Regions from separate parts of the Homo sapiens genome. Here region 2 is linked to region 1. Evidence: promoter capture Hi-C in 16 types of primary human blood cells and fetal thymus (Javierre and others, 2016). All regions are on one chromosome and are shown on one strand. The core of a region is centred on a gene start or on the middle of the fragment in contact, and the rest is flanking DNA. Distances in the headings are between cores, read along the strand shown. Region 1 holds the start of LDOC1 (LDOC1 regulator of NFKB signaling). Region 2 has its middle 11 kb from the start of MIR320D2.

Region 1 (5,604 bases), core at 3,105-5,604:
TCTCCGGGCCAGAGGTCTCTATTGCCCTCCAAGTGAGGTTTCTGTAAAAAGCAGTCCCAGGTGCACCTGGCTAAGAAGGGGGATGGGGGAAGTCTATGTGGGAAGAGATCTGGCTCTTGGCAGCATTCATGCAGTCCTCTCACAAATATTCTTTCCGAAGCTGTTTCTGTTCCTGGCTGTATATTTGAGTGCTGAGTTAGTTCACCCAGTCGATGTGTGCACACTCATCTGGTGGCTCAAGAATCATGGGAAATTTTCATGTTCAAGAGAATTTTACAGTCTGGATGCTTGATGTGTACCAGGGCACGGTTTGGAGCCTGAAACATGGTGGTAGTGAGTGCCTTGGACTTGTGCTCTTGCCAAACGGTGGAGTCTAAGCCACCCTTAGGGCGTTCCAACCCAGAGCTGTCCTGATAAATTTTACTGGCCCGAGACAAGTACTCCCTATGAGTACTTGTCACAGGGAGTACTTGTGTCTGCCCCCAGCATATTCACGTTAAGTGGAAAGGAACACTTAAGGGCCACTCGAGAAGGGGAAAGAAAATGAGGAAGGCGACATGCAGCTGTGAGCAGGGTGAATGGAGAAGGAAGTGCTGATATGCATTGGCACTGGTGGGAGAGCCTCACAGGCACCTGGAAGCTGGTTAAAATGAGCATTAAGATTCTACATCTTCTATCAACTGATACTACATACCTCTTCCTGACTGCTTCTGTTGTGAGTCAGTGCTAAGCTGCTTGTCTCCATTCCCTTTCTCCAACCAGGGAAGCACCTCCCAAAGTCACTGCTCAGTTCTGGGCAGGACATTTCCTGTCTTCCAGGGTCTCAGAGCACACTCAGAGGGAACAATAGTGGTTGCCTCGTCTGGTTTCCTCCCTGAATCCCTCTGCTGTGGGGTTGTAGGGAGAAAATTAGGGCAGCATCTGCCTAATCATCTCTGGTTCCCCACTAGACCTGCCTGGGCCCACTGAAGTCACAAGGGTCCAGCACATATTAATTATTCAGAGCAAGGGCATGGGCGGGCTTTAGAGTTAGAGAGGTTGGCATGAAGGTATAGCACCATCAACCTATTGCTTTATTAGGTTTAGATATTTACCTCCTGGGTCTCTGGCTCTAAAATGCCCATTCCCATGTCTGGTCCTTGTGTATGAGTCATTGTGACAGCCCTGCCAATCACCTGGCCCAGTGTCTGCTACAGAAAGTGTGCTCTAGGCCGGGCGCGGTGGCTCACGCCTGTAATCCCAGCATTTTGGAAGGCCGAGGCGGGTGGATCACCTGAGGTCAGGAGTTTGAGACCAGCCTGACCAACATGGAAAAACCCTGTCTCTACTAAAAATATAAAATTAGCTGGGCGTGGTGGCGCATGCCTGTAATCCCAGCTACTCGGGAGGCTGAAGCAGGAGAATCGCTTGAACCCGGGAGGCGGAGGTTGCAGTGAGTCGAGATTGTGCCATTGCACTCCAGCCTGGGCAACACGAGCAAAACTCTGTCTAAAAAAAAGAAAAAGAAAGAAAGAAAGTGTGCTCCCAGGAGTCGAACCCTGAGTACTCTTCCTGTATTAGGGCCTGGATATGAAAGGTGAAGCTGGACACTACCTCTGTCCCAGTCAGGCCCATCCTGTACTCTGAACTGTAAATGGGCATGATGGCCAGAGACCTACTTTCCACATTTCACATCCCTCCCCTCAATCCTTACACTGAATGTTTACGGAGCAGCTAGTAAACACTGCCAGGTGCTGAAGATAAAATTAAGAGTGAGAGTGGATCCCTGCCTGCCAACTTCTCAGGTGGCGGAGCTCATAGCACAGGAGAGGCCAAAAGCTCACATTCCTCCTATCTCTTTTTTTCACTGCTTATCCTTTCACCACTGTGATCTTCCCCGTGTCCCTGCTTGGGGCTTGGCCCTGTTTCTCTGCTCTTTCCCAGCCTCCTACTTCCATGGATGATCATTCAATTCTATCCTAAAGGACCGAATCGAATTTCTTTAAAAATCTATTCAGCCAGTTTTATTACATCAGTCATTGTTTCACAATCGAGACTGATCCATGGTCAGAGATAAAATACACTGAACAATTTTTTTTCTTTTTTTTTTTTCTTTTTGAGATGGTGTTTTGCTCTTATTGCCCAGGCTGGAGCACAATGGCGTGATCTCGGCTCAGGCAACCTCTGCCTCCCAGGTTCAAGTGATTCTCCTGCCTCAGCCTCCCAAGTAGCTGGGATTACAGGCGCCCACCACCACACCTGGCTAATTTTGTATTTTTTGGAAAGACAGGGTTTCTCCATGTTGGTCAGCCTGGTCTTAACTCCTGACCTCAGGTGGTCTGCCCCCCTCAGCCTCCCAAAGTGCTGGGATTACAGGCATGAGCCACCACGCCCAACCTTACATTTAACAATTTGAAGAGTATTTTTTGACTCTTTGTGCAGCGACAACTTCTGATTTTCATCTCAGCATCTTCACTCTGGGATGATTTTACTCGCCAAACATTAATGAAGCCTCTACTCTGGGCCAGAACTTTTCTAGGCATTAGGGATAGACCAGATAGCAAAAGCAGTGTTTGACTTATATATTCTAAAATGGAAGCAGATGATGAGCAAAGTACTGTATATACATACGACATGGTGGCCGGTAGCACAATAAATGTTATGTAGATAAATGAAGCAGAGTAAAGGGTTACAGATTGGGGGCAGAGAACAGGGTGCTCTGATAGGTCCGGTGGTCAGAAAAGTTCTCTCTGAAAGCAGTAGGAGGAGTCAGGCAGCCAACTGGGATGACAGCCTTGCAAGGCAGAAGGAATAGAAGATGCAAAGGCTATGAAGCCAGAACTGCTTGATGGGTGTGAGAATCAGCAAGGAGGACAGTGATTAGAGCACAGCAGAAACTGGGAAGAGGCACAGGATAGAAGGAGGGGCCTTGTAGGCCTTGGCTGCAACTTTGCTCTTTATTCTCAGGTGAAACTGTTGGAGGATTTTGAGCAGGAGAGTGAAGGGATCTTTTTTTTTTTCTTTTGAAACGGAGTCTCGCTCTGTAGCCCAGGCTGGAGTGCAGTGGCGCTATCTCGGCTCACTGCAACCTCTGCCTCCAGGGTTCAAGCAATTCCCCTGCCTCAGCCTCCCGAGTAGCTGGGATTACGGGCATGCGCCACCACGCCCAGCTAATTTTTTGTATTTTTAGTAGAGACGGGTTTCACCCTGTTAGCCAGGATGGTCTCGATCTCCTGACCTCGTGATCCGCCCGCCTCGGCCTCCCAAAGTGCTGGGATTACAGGCGTGAGCCACCGCGCCCGGCCCTAATTTTTGTTTTAAAGGATTCCCGTGGCTACTCTATGGAGAATATACTATAGGAAGAAAAGAGTGAAAGCTAAGTGATTAGTTGCAGCAGTCTGGGTGAGAAAGAAAGGCTAGGAATCAGGGTGGCAGTGGCAGAAATGACAAGACGTGATTGAATTGGCAATATATTTGAAAGCAGAGCCAACAATTCATGTTGGCTCTAGAATCAGGGATCCATTCAAAGTAGAAAAACAAAATTATTTAAAAACACAAACATCTTAACAGTTCATTTTTAAGTACAGAATAATACCCAGTGGCCAACGGCACTAATAGCAAGACAAGAAATAGAGAATCAAAGATATGTGGGATGCCTGCAATTGACTATTGGATGCTGATTTTGCAGAACTTTTTTATATCTTGTTACTTAGGTTTTGTGTGTGTGTGTGTGTGTGTGTGTGTGTGTGTGTGTATACCATATTATTTCCCTACTAAAGAAGTCACTGTTTAAATACTACCTTTTTCATGAAAGGCAGGACCCCCTGAGGGTCTTCATGATTCTAAAAGGAAGTGTGACTCCCACAGGGCAGCCAGCAGTGTCAATACTTCTCTGAGTGAGATTTAAATAAGAAAGAAAATGTGTTAATAAAACATCAAGCCAAGAGAATCTAGTGGCCACAGACCCACGAAGGAACACTGAGTTGTGCAAGCTACCTAGGTAGAAGGGTGGCTAATCCTTTCAGTTTGAACAAATTTACCTTCTCTGAGACCGGACTCAGCGCTCGCCAAGTCCTCTGCTAACGCAGGCCCCACAACTAGGAGCTAGGGGAGCCTATCCCAGCCTTTAACTGCCCGCCGAGAGACCTACCACAAGCCGGTGGTTCAGCGACCCAGCGCATCCTTTTCCTGGCCACGCCCTCTTTGTCTACACCCTTCCCATCCCGGCCACGCCCCCACGCCGCCGCGGCCCCCCCACTCCCAGCCTAGCCACGCCCCTCCCCCGTCGCGCCGGCGCACCGTCCGTCCGAATGGCCTCGTGGGCGGAGCTTGCGTAGCCTCCCGGACCCCGGCGCACACCGCCCCCCGCCCCCCGCCCCTGGCCACCAAGCGCCTCCGTGGACACGCACTTCCTGCGAGGGCTCCGTGCGCACCTTGGCCGAGCCGAACCGAGCCGAGTCCTGTCCTTCCAGGCCGTTCGCAATGGTGGATGAGTTGGTGCTGCTGCTGCACGCGCTCCTGATGCGGCACCGCGCCCTGAGCATCGAGAACAGCCAGCTCATGGAACAGCTGCGGCTGCTGGTGTGCGAGAGGGCCAGCCTGCTGCGCCAGGTACGTCCGCCGAGCTGCCCGGTGCCCTTCCCCGAAACGTTTAATGGCGAGAGCTCCCGGCTCCCCGAGTTTATCGTGCAGACGGCGTCTTACATGCTCGTGAACGAGAACCGATTCTGCAACGACGCCATGAAGGTGGCATTCCTAATCAGCCTCCTCACCGGGGAAGCCGAGGAGTGGGTGGTGCCCTACATCGAGATGGATAGCCCCATCCTAGGTGATTACCGGGCCTTCCTCGATGAGATGAAACAGTGCTTTGGCTGGGATGACGACGAAGACGACGACGACGAAGAAGAGGAGGATGATTATTAGGCCCTCGACCCTCGGGCCTCGGGGGGGAGGGCCCTGCACGCCGCCACCCCCTCCCCGCAGCCCTCACCCCGCCAGGAGCCACTGCTCTCCCCCTTGCCCTCCGGTCCCCTTACCTACCCGCGCCCGTCTGCTCTCTCTCTTCATTTCTCCGTAGTGCTTGTCTTTGTTCCAGGAATAGCGCTCCAGTTACCTGCTGCTGGGGTCGGGGCTGGAGCCTCACTCACTCGGAAGTGCTTGGAAGTGTCATCTACCCTGGCCATCCCCGGGATCCCTCCCCTGCTAATCTGAACTGTGTCCTGAACCCCAGCTATTGGCCAGGCCCCTGTTACAAACTGCGCAGACCACCCGTAGCCCTGCTGCTGCCACCTGCCCTGCTGCCAGGCTTACATCTTCCCAGAGAACTATGCTGCCACTTCACATCCACTCACCACATCCCACCTACAGACTACCACCTTTCGAGATCAGGACCAACCTGGAAAATGCCAGAGTTGGCTATGCCTTTTCAGACATTGATTTGGACAGCTCACCAACCCCTGAAGGGGCCGTTCAGCCTGGTTAGTTTTCTACCTACTCCGAGTGTCCTCCCCTGCCCCACCAGATTGCTGCAGGGGCGCGGTGTGCCTGGCAGCCAAATTGTTGACACTTCTTTTTTCCTATGCACTGGTTTTACACAGCTGTCATTTTTCTTTCAAAATTGCAGCA
Region 2 (5,012 bases), core at 1,740-4,239, 260 kb after region 1:
TTATTATTCCCATTTTACAGATGAAGAAATGTCATAGCGTTTCAGTGGTTTAGTTAGGGTTACTCATCTAGTAAGAGGTGAGTCAGGTCTCCCTGCCTCTGTAGAGATAAAATTCATTCTCTCTCTCTCTCTCTCTCCTTCCTCCTTTACACATCCGAAAACACATATACACATGCTTACGTGAACATTCTGCAACATTCTGCAAATATTCTCAGTGTCACTGTAACTAAATTTTTAGAAAAAAATAGCAAAGGACTAACTGGAATGAGCTCCATCAGCAGGAGGAAAAGAAGCAAAAAACTCAAGCAAAAATAATATGACTGAGGAGGAAAACTAGTATTCAATGCAAAACATTAAGGAGGTTTTTGTGGGTGGAAGCAATCTTGTTCATCTACTTGTGGCAGGATATTTCGAAGAAGTATTATTGTGGGGTTTGTTCTCTGTTACAAAGTAATCAGAATGAGAGGTAGTTTTCTTCCTATTTCCTCAAGGCCTCACTCTCAGAAGGGCCCTGTGCTTGGTTTAAAGCCCTGCTGTCATTGTCTTGAAATTGTGAATAATTTTATCTTTGATTTTGTGGTTTGTAAGTGAAATCTAATGGGACAACAGAACATTTGTGTTAACACACAACATATGCCAGGTGGTAGTATGCACATAGCAGTTCATGCAATGCACTATGCACACCCAGGGTAGTCCAGGGTACTGCAGGTTCTTGAAAGAATAGCTGTGGCCAGGATCTAGGTCAAGACTGGTGGAGTCAATAGTGGTGGAAACAGCAGAAGCTACAGTTGTCATGGCAGTGGCTGCAGCCCCAAAAAAGAGGGGGTGCTCCATATGGGGCCAGCACTGGGACCAAGGTGGACATTCACTTACCTGTCCATCCCCAAAGCCCATCCCTCTGCCATCTACACGAATAGCTACTCTCTGACTTGAATTTTGGGACAGGTAACTGCCTGTTTTTAGGCAATAAAGTTTGTCAGCAAATTACTATAAAACAAGTATAAAATGCATTGTACATTGCAATAAACATATCAGAGAGTTATTTGGAGTTTTCAAAGAGTTTAGAATTTCTGGGTTTGAAACCTGTTGCAGCCTTGCAAAGGAAATATCCACAGGCTTAGAAAAGAATTAATTTTAAAGATTATCCTATTCAACAGAAAATAAATATTTTCATATAAAGCTTCGGATGAACCAAATATTAAAGATGAAGACAATTTGAAAATTAACATTTCCTTGTAATTGAAGATAGAGTGGTGGAATGCATAAACAAGCATTTTGAATGGTTTATAAATGATGAAGTCACTTTTGGTTAATTATATAACCTCCACGAGTTGCAGGAAATGTCAAATAAACATTAAAATACCATTGTTTACATTTACATTTAAAGTTAAATTCTGACTTACATGAAACTGACTTGTATGAAGAGTTATATCTTTTTAGAAAAATTGTTTCATGAGAATCATCAGCTCTAGATGTAATAAAATTTATATTTTAAAATAATTTGTTAAAACCTTACCCCAATGTTGTCCTTCTCTAGAAATACTCTTGACAGCATCAGTTACAGTTGCATGAGCAGAAAAATCCTTCTCAATATTAAAACATATCAAAGGGGATTTGCAATCTTACATTTGTCACCAGTAACTGATGGTACTTTCAATTATATTGACTAAAAACAAGGTTGCTGTAAGTATACGTTTTGGTGATATTATAAATTAATTTGCAGAAAAGTGAGCCAGAAGAATCTTGTGCTCAATCAAGATGTCACATTAATGAAATGTCATTATTCACTGTATATATAAAATTATGGCACTGATTTATAAAATTATGAAACAAATATTATTCTTTGCATTTCTAAAGATTATGCCATTACTCATGTGTCACTATTACCCCTATTAAGTTTCATAAGTAATAAAATATTTCTAAAGGGAGAAGTTTCATAGTTTCGTACCTTTAACATCACTTTTTTCTGATTCTTGAACAAGGGACCCTGAATTTTCATTTTGCACCAAGCGTCAAAAATTATGTAGCTGGTCCTGCTTCAGGATTATATCATTCTCTCTGCCACCTACCCTACCACTCCACCACACACACACACACAGCTAATCAAACAAGCTTTTCCTTATTTTATATATTATTTGATTGAGGCACAGCTTTATCCAGGCACTAATCACCTCATTTATGTTAAGATGCTGTAAGTTAATAGGAAACATATTCTTCATCCCAAATAATACATGTATTTTAATAGAGGTTTGCGCTGACAACCTTGAAAGGATGTTGTTTCATCCTGGTCTGTAGTTCCCCGCAAAGGTTCTGACATAGAACTGACATTTGATAAATATCTGTTAAATTAAGTGTATGGTAAGTGATTCTGGAACTCCCTAGCAGGCTATTAGTAGTGCTGTTCTCAGTCAAGGGCACATTTCTTGGTTGTTACACGAAAAATGAATGTATGAACCATATGCAGATCTTTGCTCCACTTTGTCCCCAAAGTGTAATTGGTATCTAACCTCAGCTTTCCTGTGCAGGCTAGAGCCTAGTAAATGAGATAAGTTGGGCTCCGAGCCCAAGAACACCTTACCACAAGTAAGAGATGGCCTTCATTTTGAAACAAAGCACACACATGCCCCTGAATTTCAAAGCAAGGTGCCCCAGTCTCCAGGATGAAAGGGATGAATCTACTGTCAGCTTCTAACTAACTTCTTTGTTCCTTCATGTTTTATTTTCCTAACAAGGGTCAGTCCCTCTGGTTCTTACTGTCACTATCATTCCAGGCTCACTCACTAAAACTCCACTGTGGGTTTTGACAAGAATCCATTTTGTAGAGCTGAGCAGGGTAGCATTTATTCAAGAGTTTTAATGCATGCTATGAGGATATAAAAATTAAATTGACATAAAACACAAATAGAGAGAAAAATAAGATTTTCAAAGTACAAATTTCCAATTTTAAGAGTGTTAGTAAATGAATCCAGCTGACTAGGTCCCCAATCATCTGACTAAAAATTTATCTTCCTCCTACTATACATAATGAGCCTCTTTCTCTCCCAGCAGCATGTCTACCTCTTGGCTTTTATGTACTATATTGTCCCTCACCTTGAGACTCTCATTCCAACTCTTACCACCAAAGATTTGCCAAACCCTCAGGTGACCCTCAGTCCTTTCTAGAGCTAAGGATGAGCTAAATTATTGACTTGGATGCAAAACACTACTACTTTACAAATCATTGTTGGACTGAGTGTTTACCCCAGTTTTAAAGTTCATTCTATCACACAGAAACAATTGATTTTATTAAAGCCAGTTTGCTTTTTGCAAAATTGTGTAACAGCTGTTTCAACATAAAGCACTTGAAGCACAAATATTAGATAAGCACATGTACAGAAGGGAATGGGGTGTCAGAAATAAAATGATTTAGATATGGTACTTAAGGAATATTGAAGTATGATAAAATAAATCCTTGTTATGAATCATTTCTGAGACCCATAGAGATAGATTTGTGCCTATGATATGCCATATCTCACACTTTGTTGCGTCTCCCATAGAGCCCAGCACCTAGCATATTCTCTTTAATACTGGAGTGCTCAGTAAAGGTCCGGTAAGTGATTGACTGGTTGTTGCTCTTGCAAAAGAAAACAATTCATTTTCTGATGAGCTTTGTATTTAAGATCCAAATCAGACAAGCTAGTTTATTTTTCTTCAAAAATGGTGATTATTTACTCTGTTGCAAATAAATATAGAATGCCATGTCATCGAGAAAACATTTCTGAATCTACGGACACACAGTCAAAAGAAATACATAAGAAGAAAGAATACACTGAAAAGATATCTCCCTTTTCTGAGTTTAATAAATGACCATTTTAACAAAAGCTTGTGAGACGAAATTGCTTTATGAATGAGACATTTTATGTCAAGTTCCAGCCAGTAGCTGACAACACTTTCAGTGCAATGTTAACAATTTGAAATATATTGAAATAATTTTATAAATTAATAATGTAGCTATGAAAAGCTCAACCTCATAATCATTCTCCTCTGGAAACACTCCATTCCATCTTATTTTTATAAGCACTTTATATGGAAATATGATACGTTGCTCCTGTTAAGCAAACTACTTTAGGAGGCAAAAAATTGATTTATTGAATAATTAGCATGCAGATAGAGAAAAGCTATGTGCCTTGCAGAAGATCTAAAATTGTTATTGGGAGCAAAGTGATAGTCATATTTTTTTAAACTGTATCAGCGATTGCAGATGCCAGGCACATTCGCAATAACAGTACAATTTAGTCACGGATTAGATATGGACATGGTGTTAGCATTTTAGTGTGAGAATAATTTTGGTAATATAAATGTGAGCAAACCTTTGAGGATTTAGAAAGGCCAGATAAGGCATAAAGTATATCCTGGCCGTGGCAGCGTAACAGGGTCATTGTAGGAAGAGGATATATAATGTAGATTATTCATGACCTCAGAGAAGACAGCGACACACAGAAGACTCTTACTAATAAAAATAGAGATGATGTTGCATACATTTATGAAATTCCCAGAGAGTAGCAAGTATGATATTGGACATATTAAAAGGTCAAGTGCTTCTCTCTCAGCACTAAGAAAGAAATATCAGAATGTCCCTAAAGATAGATAAAGCATAAAGCAGTGAGTTTTAATAAAAGTTGTGGTTGGCAGACAATGGAAATTAATGACCAACTAAGTTAGTGATCAAATTGGCATGTCTGCAATAACCACAAACAAACTTTATCTCTCTGTCAAAGGAAAACAAACAGGAAACTCAAGAGGTTTGAGATAACAGCCAAATTATTCTTTGCTTATACCTTCCTTCAGGATAGCCATGAGGGAAAAAATGTGAAAATGTGACAATAAGCTGAAGTTTTAGATATGAAAGGAGATAATTATCTCAAAGTGCTTTGTAGGTAATAAACAGCTGCATGAAAGATGGTAATGATAGTAATACAACCTTGTGACTTCCAAAGTGCCTTCAGATTCCTGCTTTTATTTGAGCTAGGTGT

The links. Contacts are between HindIII fragments. The CHiCAGO score rates a contact against its expected background, and 5 or more counts as called.
Region 2: a fragment that was not itself captured here is called in contact with the fragment with the promoter of LDOC1 in region 1 in 1 of 17 cell types (total B cells); the score reaches 5.3 in total B cells.

Annotation. Positions count from the first base shown.
Region 1 is chrX:141,175,879-141,181,482 of GRCh38, reverse strand. It overlaps LDOC1 (LDOC1 regulator of NFKB signaling), which reads left to right and starts at 4,354. Exons shown (of 1, transcript NM_012317.4): 1 at 4,354-5,604. The coding sequence starts at 4,462. The coding sequence ends at 4,902. RefSeq lists an enhancer at 4,790-5,289. The HindIII fragment of the contact is 16,966 bases long and covers 1-5,604 here.
Region 2 is chrX:140,912,544-140,917,555 of GRCh38, reverse strand. No RefSeq gene overlaps it. Among named protein-coding and RNA genes, the nearest start is that of MIR320D2, 11 kb to the left of the region's middle. The HindIII fragment of the contact is 1,749 bases long and covers 2,115-3,863 here.